3 separate regions of the Homo sapiens genome follow, and all the other regions are linked to region 2. The links are contacts of gene promoters, found by promoter capture Hi-C in human tissues and cell types (Jung and others, 2019). All regions are on one chromosome and are shown on one strand. The core of a region is centred on a gene start or on the middle of the fragment in contact, and the rest is flanking DNA. Distances in the headings are between cores, read along the strand shown. Region 1 holds the start of IL2RB (interleukin 2 receptor subunit beta). Region 2 holds the start of TMPRSS6 (transmembrane serine protease 6). Region 3 holds the start of KCTD17 (potassium channel tetramerization domain containing 17).

Evidence for each region. Contacts are between HindIII fragments. The study calls those that stand out against the background at their distance.
Region 1: a fragment that was not itself captured here is called in contact with the fragment with the promoter of TMPRSS6 in region 2 in 2 of the 25 tissues and cell types used here (IMR-90 fibroblasts and spleen).
Region 3: a contact is called between the fragment with the promoter of KCTD17 here and the fragment with the promoter of TMPRSS6 in region 2, in 3 of the 25 tissues and cell types used here (IMR-90 fibroblasts, lymphoblastoid cells and spleen).

Annotation. Positions count from the first base shown.
Region 1 is chr22:37,148,681-37,153,156 of GRCh38, forward strand. IL2RB (interleukin 2 receptor subunit beta) reads right to left here and starts at 1,236. Exons shown (of 10, transcript NM_000878.5): 1 at 1,145-1,236. RefSeq lists a promoter at 1,146-2,101 and enhancers at 1,276-1,298, 1,381-1,412, 1,495-1,606. The HindIII fragment of the contact is 6,256 bases long and covers 1-4,476 here.
Region 2 is chr22:37,106,870-37,110,964 of GRCh38, forward strand. It overlaps TMPRSS6 (transmembrane serine protease 6), which reads right to left and starts at 2,844. Exons shown (of 18, transcript NM_001374504.1): 1 at 2,634-2,844. RefSeq lists an enhancer at 1,074-1,575. The HindIII fragment of the contact is 35,568 bases long and covers 1-4,095 here.
Region 3 is chr22:37,048,881-37,053,315 of GRCh38, forward strand. It overlaps KCTD17 (potassium channel tetramerization domain containing 17), which reads left to right and starts at 2,862. Exons shown (of 9, transcript NM_001282684.2): 1 at 2,862-3,069; 2 at 4,220-4,328. The coding sequence starts at 2,881. RefSeq lists silencers at 2,654-2,963, 2,974-3,093 and enhancers at 3,030-3,747, 3,748-4,435. The HindIII fragment of the contact is 12,846 bases long and covers 1-4,435 here.

The sequences.
Region 1 (4,476 bases), core at 1,615-4,114, 42 kb after region 2:
AGCCCTCCCTACAGCCCCATGAGGAGGCTCTAGTATGCCTCCTTTTTGCCAAATGAGGAGACTAAGAAACGGGTCAACCTCTCACCCAGGCGAGAAGGGCATAGAGCTGGGATTTGAACCTGGTCAGGTGCAGTTCGGGGCCCCTGCTGCCATCAGGGGTATATGGTGGCTGGGGCAGGGTGGTAAAGCAGGAGCTCGGGAGCCCATGGTTCATCCAACTTGACCTCTGAACTCAATGGGGCCTATGTCCCCTCGTCCTCTCTGGCCACCTCCACCTGCCACCCCCCTGCTCCCATACACAGTGCTTGTCTCTTGCTATTTAACTTCAGGGGCTTCTCCAGCTGGGTGCGGGACCCTGGCTGTGGGGGAAGGAAGGGGACCCTTGGGGATAGCTCAGCTCCTCACTCCACCTCCCTCCCCCGAGGTGCTACAAACACAGTTAAGAGTGGGAGGCTTCGGCCCCCAGGAGAGGAGAGAGCATGAGCTCCAGGCAGCCCCAAAGATAGGGTCCCATCCCCAATGTCCGGAGATGCTTCTGACCTGTCCAGTCATGCAGCCAAGGGAGGGACAAACCCAGACTCAAACCCAGGGCTCTGCCTCCAGCCTGGGGCTCCCAGAGGCCTCGCAGCAACTTCACTTCATAGATGGCTCTCCAAGGGGACCCTTCTGTCCCCACTTACTCCACAAGCCTCCTGATGAGCACGCAACACAGGGCTGCCTCCCCCGGTATATGGGCCCCACTCCACAGAGGTCAGGAGGGGGCTCCCGCCTGTCCCACCCCATATCCCGTACCCTCTCCGGGCACCCAGGCTATCCACCCATCCCTTCTCCACCTCTCCGGGTTGGGGGCCCAGCACACAGAGCCCAGGGAAGCCCCTCATCCCACAGCAGTCCCTAGCCTCCCCTGAATGGGTTGGGAAGGAGAGCTGACCTGGGACTGGGGACCGCTTTTTCCTCCAGCCAGGAGCCATGAGAGCTGGGCCCAACCCCTCCCTAGGGGAATTCTAAGACAAAGTTGGGGGATGGGAGTTCAGGCAGAAACTGCTGGGGGAACTGAGTCAGAGCTGAAAGTCTTCTCTGTGACTTTCACTCCCAGCCCTCTGGCTGGTCCACAGGGGCCGGGAGGGAGGCAGGGGGACATCACCTGGCTGAGACATGGGGCGGTGGCAGCGCGCGCTCTCCAGTCCTCCCCGGTGCTGGGACCGTGGCCATCTCTCCAGGGCCCTGCTGAGCTCTGGCTGCTGGGGCCGCAAAGACTAAAAGCCCAGAGCCAGCCCACTTCCTGTGCAGAGGATAGAGGGGCAAGGCCTGGGGTGGAGAGGCGGGGAGACGAGGCTTATGAGAAAGCCTGAAACTCCTCAAGCACCCAGGGCCAGATAAAGATCTGCCTCCTACGCTGGGGGCGGCACACACACACACACACACACACACACACACACACACACACACAGACACACATTGTCAAATAGGGGCCTAGCTGCACACAGGAGCCAAGGGAACGCAGGCCCTCCCTCTCTCCCCTCCTACATCACCCCCACGCCAACTCACACAGGCTACCCAACACCTCTGACGCCTCCATCCGGTCACACACATACCCACTAATACGTAGGCTTCACACAAGCAGGTCCCTCTAGGTGACCCCAGCGTCTCACCCTCCTCCCAGCCTGCAACACACCATCTTTCCGAGACTCCCATTTCACCCAGCCTTCCAGGAAGCCCCTTACTCCGTTTAGCATTCAGAGATGACTGTTTTTTTTAGTTTTTAATTTTGTGGGCATGTGGTAGGTGTCTATATTCATGAGGCACATGAGCTATTTTGATACAGGCATACAATGTATAATAATCACATCAGGGTAAATGGGGTATCCATCACCTCAAGTATTTATCCTTTCTTTGTGTTAAAATCCAAGTATACTCTTTTAGTTATTTTTAAATGTACAATAAATTATTGTTGACTAAAGTCACCCTGTTATGCTATCAAATACTAGATCTTATTCATTCGATCTAATTCTGTTTTCGTACCCAACAACAATCCCCACCCCTCCAACCCCCACTGCCCTTCCCATCTCCATCACTGCCCTTCCCATTTCCATGAATTCAATTGTTTTAATTTTTAGCTCCCACAAATAAGTGAGAACATGTGAGCTTTGTCTTTTTGTGCCTGGCCTGTTTCACTTAACATAATGACCTCCAGTTTCAAACATGTGGTTGCAAAGACAGGATCTCATTCTTTTTCATGGCTGAATAGTACTCCATTGCATATATGTACCACATTTTCTTTATTCATTCATCTGTTGATGGGCACTTAGGTTGCTTCCAAATCCTGGGTATTGTGAACAGTGCTGCAACAAATGTGGGAATGCAGATGTCTCTTCCATATACTGATTTCCTTTCTTCTGGGTATATACTCAGCAGTGGGATTGCTGGATCATATAGTAGTTCTATTTTTAGTGTTTTGAGGACTCTTCAAACTGTTCTTTATAGTGGTTGTACTAATTTACATTCCCACCAACAGTGTACGAGAGTTCCCTTTTCTCCCCACCCTCACCAGCATTCATTATTGCCTGCCTTTTGGATAAAAGTCATTTTAACTGAGGTGAGATAATATCTCATTGTAGTTTTGACATGCATTTCTCTGATGATCAATGATGTTGAGCACCTTTTCATAAACTTATATGTTTTCTTTTGAGAACTGTCTATTCAGATCATTTGCCCAATTTTTGATGGGATTTCTATAATTTTTTTCCATAAAGATGTTTGAGCTCCTTATCTAGTCCAGTTATTAATCCCTTGTCAGATAGTTTGCAAATATTTTCTCCCATTCTGTGGGTTGTCTCTTCACTTTGCTGATTGCATCCTTTGCTGTGTAGAAGCCTTTTAACTTGATGTGATCTCATCTATCATTTCTGCTTTGGTTGCATGTGCTGGTGGGGTATTGCTCAAGAAATCTTTGCCTAGTCCCATGTCCTAAAGAGTTTCCCCAATGTTCCTTTTAGTAGTTTCATAGTTTGAGGTCTCAGATTTAAGTCTTTAATCCATTTGGATTTGATTTTTGTATATGAAGAGAGATGAGGGTCTAGTTTCATTCTTCTGCATATGGATATCCAGTTTTCCCAGCAACATTTATTGAAAAGACTGGCCTTTCCCCAAAGGTATGTTTTTGGCAATTTTGTTGAAAATAAGTTCACTGTAGGTGTGTGGATTTGTTTCTGGGTTCCCTATTCTGACCAATGGTTCATTGGTCAATGCATCTGTTTTTACGCTAGCGCCACGCTGTTTTGGTTACTGTAGCTCTGTGGTATAATTTGAAGTCAGATAATGTGATTTGTCCAGTTTCACTCTTTTTGCTTAGGATGGCTTTGGCTACTCTGCATCTTTTGTGGTTCCATATAAATTTGACGATTATTTTTTCTACTTCTGTGAAGAATGTCATTAGTATTTTGATAGGGATTACATTGAGTCTGTATATTTCTTTGGGTGGTATGGACATTTTAACAATATTGATTCTTCCAATCCATAAACATAGAATATCTTTTTATTTTTTGTGTCCTCTTCAGTTTCTTGCACCAACGTTTTATAGTTTTCATTATAGAGATCTTTCACTTTTTTGGTTACGTTTATTCCTAGGTATTTTATTTTATTTGTAGCTATTCCAAATGGAGTTATTTTCTTGATTTCTTTTTCAGATTGTTTGCTGTTGGTACATAGAAATACTACTAACTTTTGTATGTTGATTTTGTATTCTGCAGCTTAACTGAATTTGTTTATCAGTTCTCATAGTTTTGTGGTGGCGTTTTTAGGCTTTTTGAAATATAAGATAATATCGTCTACAAACAAGGATAATTTGACTTCTTCCTTTCCAATTTGGATGCCCTTTACTTCTTTCTCTTGTCTGTTTGTTCTAGCTAGCACTTCCCAGAGATGACTATCAGGTCTTTGTGAACAATTTGATGGTCACTTACTGAACATTCTAGAACCTTCCTCTTCCTCTCAAGTCATGGTTCCTAACCCTTCTCCCCCTTTTTTGGCGGGGGAGAAGGGTGGCGTGGGAGCTCAGCTCAGGGCTCTTTTTTTTAAATGATGGAAACTTATGGATTGGTCTTTAGAAAAATGCACATCTATTTACGTGCTACATCACAGCCCCATAGACCCTGTGAAGTTCCATCCTCAGAGCCCAGAAGCAGCAGCTCTGCTTCTTCCCTTTCCTGATTCCCTGTTTCAGAGGGGTTTTATTGCAAGCTGTGGCCTCTTTTTTTTTTTTTTTTTTTTTTTGAGACATAGTCTAGCTCTGTCACCCAGGCTGGAGTGCAGTGGCACAATCTCGGCTCACTGCAACCTCTGCCCACAAAGTTCAAGCGATTCTCCTGCCTCGGCTTCCCGAGTAGATGGGATTACAGGCACGTGCTACCATGCCCGGCTAATTTTTGTATTTTCAGTAGAGACGGGGTTTCCCCATGTTGGCCAGGCTGATCTTGA
Region 2 (4,095 bases), core at 1,594-4,093:
CAGGCGACCTGCCAGGCACTGGGTTCTGGGCCCCTGGCTAGTTAAGCTGCCCCCTCCCCTGGGCAGCCCTTGATCAGATCAAGAATATGCCTTGGCTTTGGGTCTTGCCTCTGTCCCCTACAGAACAGGCAGGGCCAGCATCTTGCTCACCTCTGGGGTTCCCCATGGAACGCCGCACAGCCCGTCACATGAGTGAAGGATCAGAAAGAATGAGTGAATGAAACTGCCAAGTCTCTAGGCCCCTGGTACAGGGCTTTCTATCTTGCTGCCTCCAGGAAGGAGGACTTGTGAGGCCTGGCACTGGGGCATGGACAATGGTGTGGGCCTGTGGGGTCCCAGGTTCAATGCTCAGTCACCCTATCTTTGTCTAGCACCTGCTTGGTGCCAGGCTCTGTGGTGGCGACAGGGTGGCACATGGTGACTCTAAGAGACCTCATTCCCATCCTCTTGGGTTTCCTGCCCAGCAGGAGGAGGGGCAGTGGACAGTTGTGAAGATGACGGTGCCACTCTTGTCTTTACTATCTTATAATACAACGGCTCCCCCATTCCCAGGGTCCAGCACCTTTGGAAAAGCCTGTGGCCCTACCTTCCAAATGCCCCCCAAAGCCAGCCCCTTCTTGGCCCCCCATGACTCCCACCATCATCCAGGCCACCGTCATCTGTCACCTCGACTCCTGCAATAGCCAATCACCCACCCCCCTACCCAGTGAGTTCTCACACAATGGCCACTGCGTGTTGTCACCATGTGCCCTGCCCACAAGCCTCGCACGGCTTCCATCCACCTAGAACACAGTCCCTAAAGACCCAGGGTCTCAGTTTTCCTGTCCTCTTTGCTGAATGGGAGGTTTGCTCCTTGCTGGGCCTGGGATGTTTTCCTTTCTGCTGGCCTCGTGGCTCCCTCCTTTACCTCCTCCAAAGGGTCAGATGTCACCTCTCCAGAGAGGCCTTCCCTGGGCACTCCCGTCTCTCCTGCATTTTTCTTTATAGCAATTACAGAGGCCTAAATTGCCTGATATGCAAATATGTCATTTATCTGCCTCCTCCCTGTCTGTAAGCTGCATGAGAGCAGAGTCTGGTACTCAGCGGACACTCAGTAATTGTTAAATGAATGAATGACAAGGTCCCAGCTCCTTCCTCCCTACAGAAGTCCAAGGTGCTGTGTGCATATGTGGCCTGGCCAACTTCTCCTGCCTCCTTTTTTCCCACCCTCTCTTTTCCCCGTCGCACCCCAAGGACACTGGACTTCCATTGGTGAGAAATTTTAACAATGGGATGGTAGCAAACATTTATGGATTAAGAGCAGCCAGCCGGCACCAAGAGCCCTCGTGGACCTTGAGCCCTGTCAGTGCTTGTTCACGGCCAGGCGTCCCCACACTCTTCCTTCTGCCTGGGCCCCCACCTCCCAACCTGGCCAGCTCTTATGCAGCCCCTGTCACCTCAGTTCAGACCTCACCTCTTCGCAGCTCTCCCAGAGTGCCCTAGAAGGGGCGGCTGCCCCTCGCGATGTGCAGCTTACCTGTGGGCACTCTCTCTTTGCCCCTCACATTGAACTCCTGGAAGCGGGGACTGTGCTCCAATTGCCACAGGGGCCTGAAGCAGTCCCCCAGCTCTGAGCACCATGGACCCCACCCTGGCACCTGCTCCTCACTCCCTCCTGCCCTTCTGGCCATTGGAGGGTCTCGGGTCTGCCTGCTGGAGGCTGAGCTCCTTGGGGCGGGGCCGCGACTCCCCCAGCAATGCAGATCCGGATTCAACCACTGCGTATGAACTCCTACCATGTGCCAGCCCTGTGCTGGGCAGTGCTGCAAACTCCACTGCAGCCTCCAACAGCCTGGGGTGCCTACTTTGCTGACTCTATTTAATGGCTGGGGAAACTGAGGTAGAGAGAGGTAACATGACTTACCCGAGGTCCCTCAGCCAGGGCAGAGCAGAGCAGAGCAGGGACTCTGGGCTAGGGCCATAGGGGCATCTTTCAGTGAAACCATTAGGCCCTAGAGTCCTGAGAGTGTGGGGGACTGGGTGGGGGTCCCTTCCACACATATAAACACACTCACAGACCCACAGATGTACACAGATGGAGACACGCGGAGGGATATACGCACATCTATTCATGACACAAAAATTCATAGATGCACGCCCTTCCTACACAGACACACACACGAACACACATACACATACATGCCAACTCTGAGCCTGTGAGCCCAGGGTCCTGGGCTTAAGTCAGTACATAGGTGCAATGTGGGGCTCCGGGCCTGTCTCCTACACCAGAAGGCCCAGGTGGGGTACCGGGTGTGGAGGGGGCAGCATGTCCAGTCCTGCGAGGCAGGGGTAGGGTGGCCTCTCCCTTCCTCCTGTCCCTGCCACCTGAATCCCAGGCCACCAACCACCCAGCACTGATGCTGTGCCTGTCCACACACCTGGTGTCACCCTGCGTGGTCCCTCCCCTCCCCAGCTCTGTGGGCCCCTCACCTTCTGCTCACTGATCACCCTCTGGCCGATGAGGCCCTGCAGGCCTGGCCTCGGAGCAGGGTAGGTGGCTCAGGCTGCAGGGAGCCAGGCCCAGCTCTTAGGGTGGACACTGTCACTAGGTCATTTATAGATCCCGGTCCCCTGTCCTGGAGGCCCCCGCTTACCTTTGGGAGCGGCAGATAGGTGCCGGGCCTGCACACAGGCCTCAGGAGCCTCTGTTTGTCCAGGCCAAGGCCTCCCCACCCCCACCCAGCCAGCCCAGGCTGGATCAATGGCCTAGAGCCATGACCAGGGTGTCTGGCCCTTGTCCCCTGTGGCCTGTGGCCTCAGGCTCCATGGAACTCCTCCTGCTGGGTCCTGGACAGCACTGTGACTAAGTACAGGTAAACAGGCAGGAGGTAGGAGAAGGCAGTGCCTGCCCCGCCCCATCTTCCCCCACCCCCGCATGGGCACCCCAGAGGCTGGCAGGCAGGTGCGGGAGATCTGAGCTCTCCCCCGAGGCCCGTTGCCTGGTGACATGCCTGCCTGGTTACAGCCCCTGGTCCCCGAGAGCATGAGGTAGGGACAGCCAAGGACTGGGGACTGTGCAGAGGCCGGTGCAGGTGAGTGCAGGGGCTCACAAGGGTGAGTCCAGGTGCTTACCTGGACAGGCGAGACTAAAGGAGCTGCTGGCCTGAGAGAGAGAAAAGGAGGCTGGGCCCATATACTCTGGGGACTGGAGAGGAGAAAGGGGAGGCAGGGGTGGGGTTTGATGCTATTTTCTGTTTAGCTGGGAATTATTTGAATTCCTACCTCGTTCTTTTTTTTTTTTTTTTTTTTTTTTAAGATGGAGTCTCACTCCGTCACCCAGGCTAGAGTGCAGTGGTGTGATTTCGGCTCACTGCAACCTCCGCCTCCCGGGTTCAAGCAATTCTCCTGCCTCAGCCTCCCAGGTAGCTGGGATTACAGCGCCCACCACCATGCCCGGCTAATTTTCATAATTTTAGAAGAGATGGGGTTTCACCATGTTAGCCAGGCTGGTCTCGAACTCCTGACCTCAAGTGATTCCACCCACCTCGACCTCCCAAAACGCTAGGATTACAGGCATGAGCGACCGCACGCAGCATGAATTCCTACCTGGTTCCGTAGCGCTGTGCTGTCCATGACGGTAGCCGCTGGTCACCCGTGGCTCTTGAGTCAGTCTGAACTGAGAAAAGCTGCACGGGGGAGACGCACACCAGGTTTCCAAGGCCAAGTGCAAACAGGATGTCAACCAACGCGATAACAATTTTTATATTGATTTTATGTTGAAATAACACTGGTGATCATGGGATAAATAAAATGTATTATTAAAAGCAATTTTCTTCTGGCTCTCTTGTTTTTTTTTTTTTCAGAGACAGGGTCTCATTAGGTTGCCAGGCTGGTCTGGAGCTCCTGGGCCCACATGATCCTCCTGCTTCAGCCTCCCAAGTAGCTGGGATTACAGGCGCGGGCCACCACACCCCTTGTTGCATGTGGATATTAGACAGGTTAAGTCACAAGTGTGACCTGCGTTGTTGTTCTATGGAACAGCGTTGCTGTGGAGATGGGTTTGAGCCATATGCGTGCCGAAGTGCCGGATGGGAGCCAGGGCTTTCTAGGGTGCGT
Region 3 (4,435 bases), core at 1,612-4,111, 58 kb before region 2:
CCCCACCTCCCAAGACCCTCCCTGGGCCCTTTTCTCTGACACTTTGTTGTTGTTGTTGTTAAGACGGAGTTTTGCTCTTGTTGCCCAGGCTGGAGTGCAATGCCGCAATCTCAGCTCACCGCAACCTCTGCCTCCCGGGTTCCAGCAATTCTCCTGCCTCAGCCTCCCAAGTAGCTGGGATTACAGGTGTGCGCCACCACACCTGGCTTATTTTTTATATTTTTGGTAGAGACAGGGTTTCATCATGTTGGCCAGGCTGGTCTCGAACTTCTGACCTCAGGTGATCCGTCCTCCTTGGCCTCCGAAAGTGCTGAGATTACAGGTGTGAGTAACTGTGCCTGGCCTGGGCTCCCCCTACTCTTGACCCAGATGTAGGTGGTCTTCTAACTGGTCTCTCTTCTAACTGGTGCTTCAAACCACCCTCCCAGCAACCTAAGGGTGATCCACATTGCAAATCTGACCGTGTCACTCCCCTGCCTGCCACCCTTGCGTGAAAGAATAAGTATCTCCTGCTCTAGTTTTGCTTTAGCTGACAATGGTCAAGGCCTCACTAAGTGCCAGCAGTCCTGCCAGTCTTTCAAGGCCACTTCACATCCCATCTCATTCACCCATTCATGCATTCAACATAGTAAATGCCAGGGACTGTGCTAGGTGTTTTTTTTTGTTTTCTTTCTTTCCTCCCTCCCTTCCTTCCTTCCTTCCTTCCTCCTTCCCTCCCTCTTTCTTTCCCTCCCTCCCTCCTTCCTTTCCTCTCTCTCTCTCTTTCTTTGACGGAGTCTCACTCTGTCACCCAGGTTGGAGTGCAATGGCATGATCTTGGCTCACTGCAACCTCTACCTCCCGGGTTCAAGTGATTCTCCTGCCTTAGCTTCCTGAGTAGCTGGAACTACAGGCGTGAGCCACCATGCCCGGCTAATTTTTGTATTTTTAGTAGAGAAGGGGTTTCACCATGTTGGCCAGGCTGGTCTCGAACTCCTGACCTTGTGATCTGCCTGCCTCGGCCTCCCAAAATGCTAGGATTACAGGCGTGAGCCACCGGCTGTTTTTTGGTTTTCTATCGTTTTATTTTTTTAAAATAGAGATGGGGGCCAGGCGCAGTGGCTCGCACCTGTAATCCCAGCACTTTGGGAGGCCAAAGTAGGAGGATCACTTGAGCTCAGGAGTTCAAAACCAGCCTGGCCAACGTGGTGAAACCCTATCTCTACTAAAAATACAAAAATTAGCCAGGCGTGGTGGTGCATGCCTGTCATCCCAGCTACTCAGGAGGCTGAGGCATGAGAATTGCTTGAACCCAGAAGGCAGAGGTTGCAGTGAGCTGAGATGGTGCCACTGCACTCCAGTCTGGGTGAGAGAGTGAGACTGTATCTCAAAAAAGAAAAAGAGAGAGAGAGAGAGAGAGAGAGAGAGAGAGAGAGAGATAGGGGTCTCACTATGCTGTCCAGGCTGGTCTTGAACTTCTATGCTCAAGCGAGCCTTGGCCTCCCAAAGTGCTGGGATTACAGGTGTGAGCCACCGCACCCAGCCTACGCTAGATGTTTATAGACATTTCATAACTTAATCTTCACAGCAATGCTCTGGGGTCACAACTGTTGTAAATCCCATTTGGCAAGAGAGAAAGCCAATCTCAGAGAGGAAGTTGCTCAGGACACACCTAGTGAATTTTAAGTAGCAGGATTCCAGTACACCTTTGATCCACTCCCTGCCAAGGAGAAAAGCTTTATGCAGAAAGCAGGGCATTGGGTGGTAACAGGGAAACTTCTCCCAGCACAGGGCCAGGCTGCCCAGTGTTCGGGCCAGCTGCGTGTGACATTGGATCAGTGAGAGGAGCCCCAGACCTCTCCCCCATAGGCCAGGACCAGGACTGAAACCAGTAAGGAGAGGAAGCTAAGGAGACAGCTTCCTCGTCAGCCCTTGTCCCTCCCTGGTCCCGGACCACATGAGGAACTGCTCCCTTCCCCCATCCTGAGGTCCACAGAATGACGGTTCCCCTCCGAGTTAACTGGGGAATAACTCAGAAAGCCACCCGCAGAACCAATCCCTCCTCCTTCTTAGGGAGGACGTGGAAAAACTGAGAAAGGCCAAAAGCCAGAATGGAAACTCAGTTCTCCTGACTCGGATCCAGGGCGTGCTCTACTCTTCCTCCTTAGAAGTCTTTCCCAAGGATCCCTGACATTCCATGGTCAGGGAGCAGGAAAGAGACCTTGGTGGGTACTCACTCACCAGCAATGTGAGTAGGGCGGTCACTTCGCTTCTGTGGCTTCATCTGTAAAATGGGTATAGCCCAAAATACCAGACTCACAGGGCTGCTGAGAGCTTAAATTCATAACACATATACACAAAGTGTCTGGCATACAGGTGCTCAGCCAACCTCAAGTCCAGCTATGTCGTTCTCCAAGAACTCAGGTGAGGGAAAGAACCCACTCCCACCCACCCCGCCCCCACCCCTATACACACAAAGGGCAAATGAAAAAATATGACGAAACACATGCGGGTCAATGCTATGGGGATTCCTGGAGGGGAAAGTTTCTTCCCTTATCAGCTGTTGGACGACGGAGACGGCACAAAGGAAAAACAAGAATGCTCGGACCCATGGGATGACTGCAGATTTGGGGAAGCCCTCATTCTTTTCCCAGAGGCCGGGAGTTCGACCTTCCCCATACACAGTGATTTGGCCAGAGGGCATCTTCACCACCCCAGACTGCGGGCCTGCGGGGAAGGGCGAAGCGGGGCGGGACCGGGGGCGGGAGCAGCGCGGGGCGGGACCCTACCCGCGGCCCACGCGGAGCCAGGAGGCGCGGACTACAGCTCCCGGCCTGCCCCGCGTGCGGTCCCCGCCCGCCCCCAGCGCCCGGGAGGAGGATGCAGACGCCGCGGCCGGCGATGAGGATGGAGGCCGGGGAGGCAGCGCCGCCGGCGGGGGCGGGCGGCCGCGCCGCAGGCGGCTGGGGCAAGTGGGTGCGGCTCAACGTGGGGGGCACGGTGTTCCTGACCACCCGGCAGACGCTGTGCCGCGAGCAGAAGTCCTTCCTCAGCCGCCTGTGCCAGGGGGAAGAGCTGCAGTCGGACCGGGTGAGGCCCCCGGGGTGGGCGGCGAGCGGGCGGTGGGTCCTCCGCTCGCCCGACGCGGGGCTGTCGGGCCTGGCTCGCCCGCCAGGCTGGGGACCCGGCCGGGTTCATTTCCGAGGAACTGGAGGCGGGAAGAAGCGGCAGGAGGAGGGGAGGGGGAGGTGGGTCTGGTAGTGAGGGATGTACCCATTGCCGTGGCAACGGGACGACGCAGGCCGCGGCCATTAGAAGCTCTCCAGCCGCCCCGGATCGGGGCCTCTCCTTCTCCTTTGGGGCTGTGGACAGGGAGAGACCTGGGACCTTTCCTCCCTCCCAAAGGGGACTCCTGCTCTGGGGAAGGAGTCGACGAGGCTACTTCTCCCGCTCTTTGGGATGTGGGTGGCGGAGGGGTGCAGGGAGCTAGCTGGATGGAGGAGCCCTGGGGCGCCTTCTGAGCGGGCTGAATCTAGAAGGAGCGTTGGCCCAGCGGGCACTATTTCTGAGCACCCACCCTGACTCTGCTGCACACTGCCTGCCGCGACCTTGAGTCGGACCCTTCCCTGCACTGCGCTCAGCCTCCTTCCTCATCTGTAACACGAAGGGCTGGTCTGAAGATGACCTCTAAGGTCTCCTGTCCCCCATCCGTGACCCTCCGATGCTGTGGCCTTTGGCAAGTCGCCTCACCTCTCAATGTCTCCGATCTCTCTGTAGAGTCGCATGGAAGCCCACCCTGCCTCCCTGCCCGCCCGAGTGTCCAGTGAGATAGTGACTCCTTTGGAAACTTGTAAACATCCCCTGAAAGCCTAGGGACCTGGGGGCGACAGTGGGGCTGGCTTCAGGGGACAGCCTCTCAGAGGGACATTCTTCGAGCCCTGTGCTGGGCCAGTTGCCACTCAGACATCCTCTCACCGGATGCTCACAGCAAACCCTGATTAGGGGGAGAGGAGTGAGTTTCAAAGAGGCCAAATCATTAGCCTAAGGTCACACATTCAGGAAGAGTCAGAAGCAGGGCTTGAACTCAGGTCCATCTGACCCCAGTGCCTTTTTGCTACTTTGTGCCTGCTCCATCCAGGGAAGAGCTCTCCCTCCACTCTCCTTCCCTCCCTGTGCGTGTGCGGGGTTGGCTGGGGAGAAGCCTCACTCTTCTCTCACCGAGCATCCCTCACCTCCATAGGATGAGACCGGGGCCTACCTCATTGACCGTGACCCCACCTACTTCGGGCCCATCCTGAACTTCCTCCGGCATGGCAAGCTGGTGCTGGACAAGGACATGGCTGAGGAGGGTGAGTTGGTCCAGGGGGCTGGCCTGGACCTTATGCAGCCTGCCAGGGCCCTCTGTGGAGGCCCCAAGCCATTTGGACAACCAGGACGGCCATCTGCCTGCTTGGTT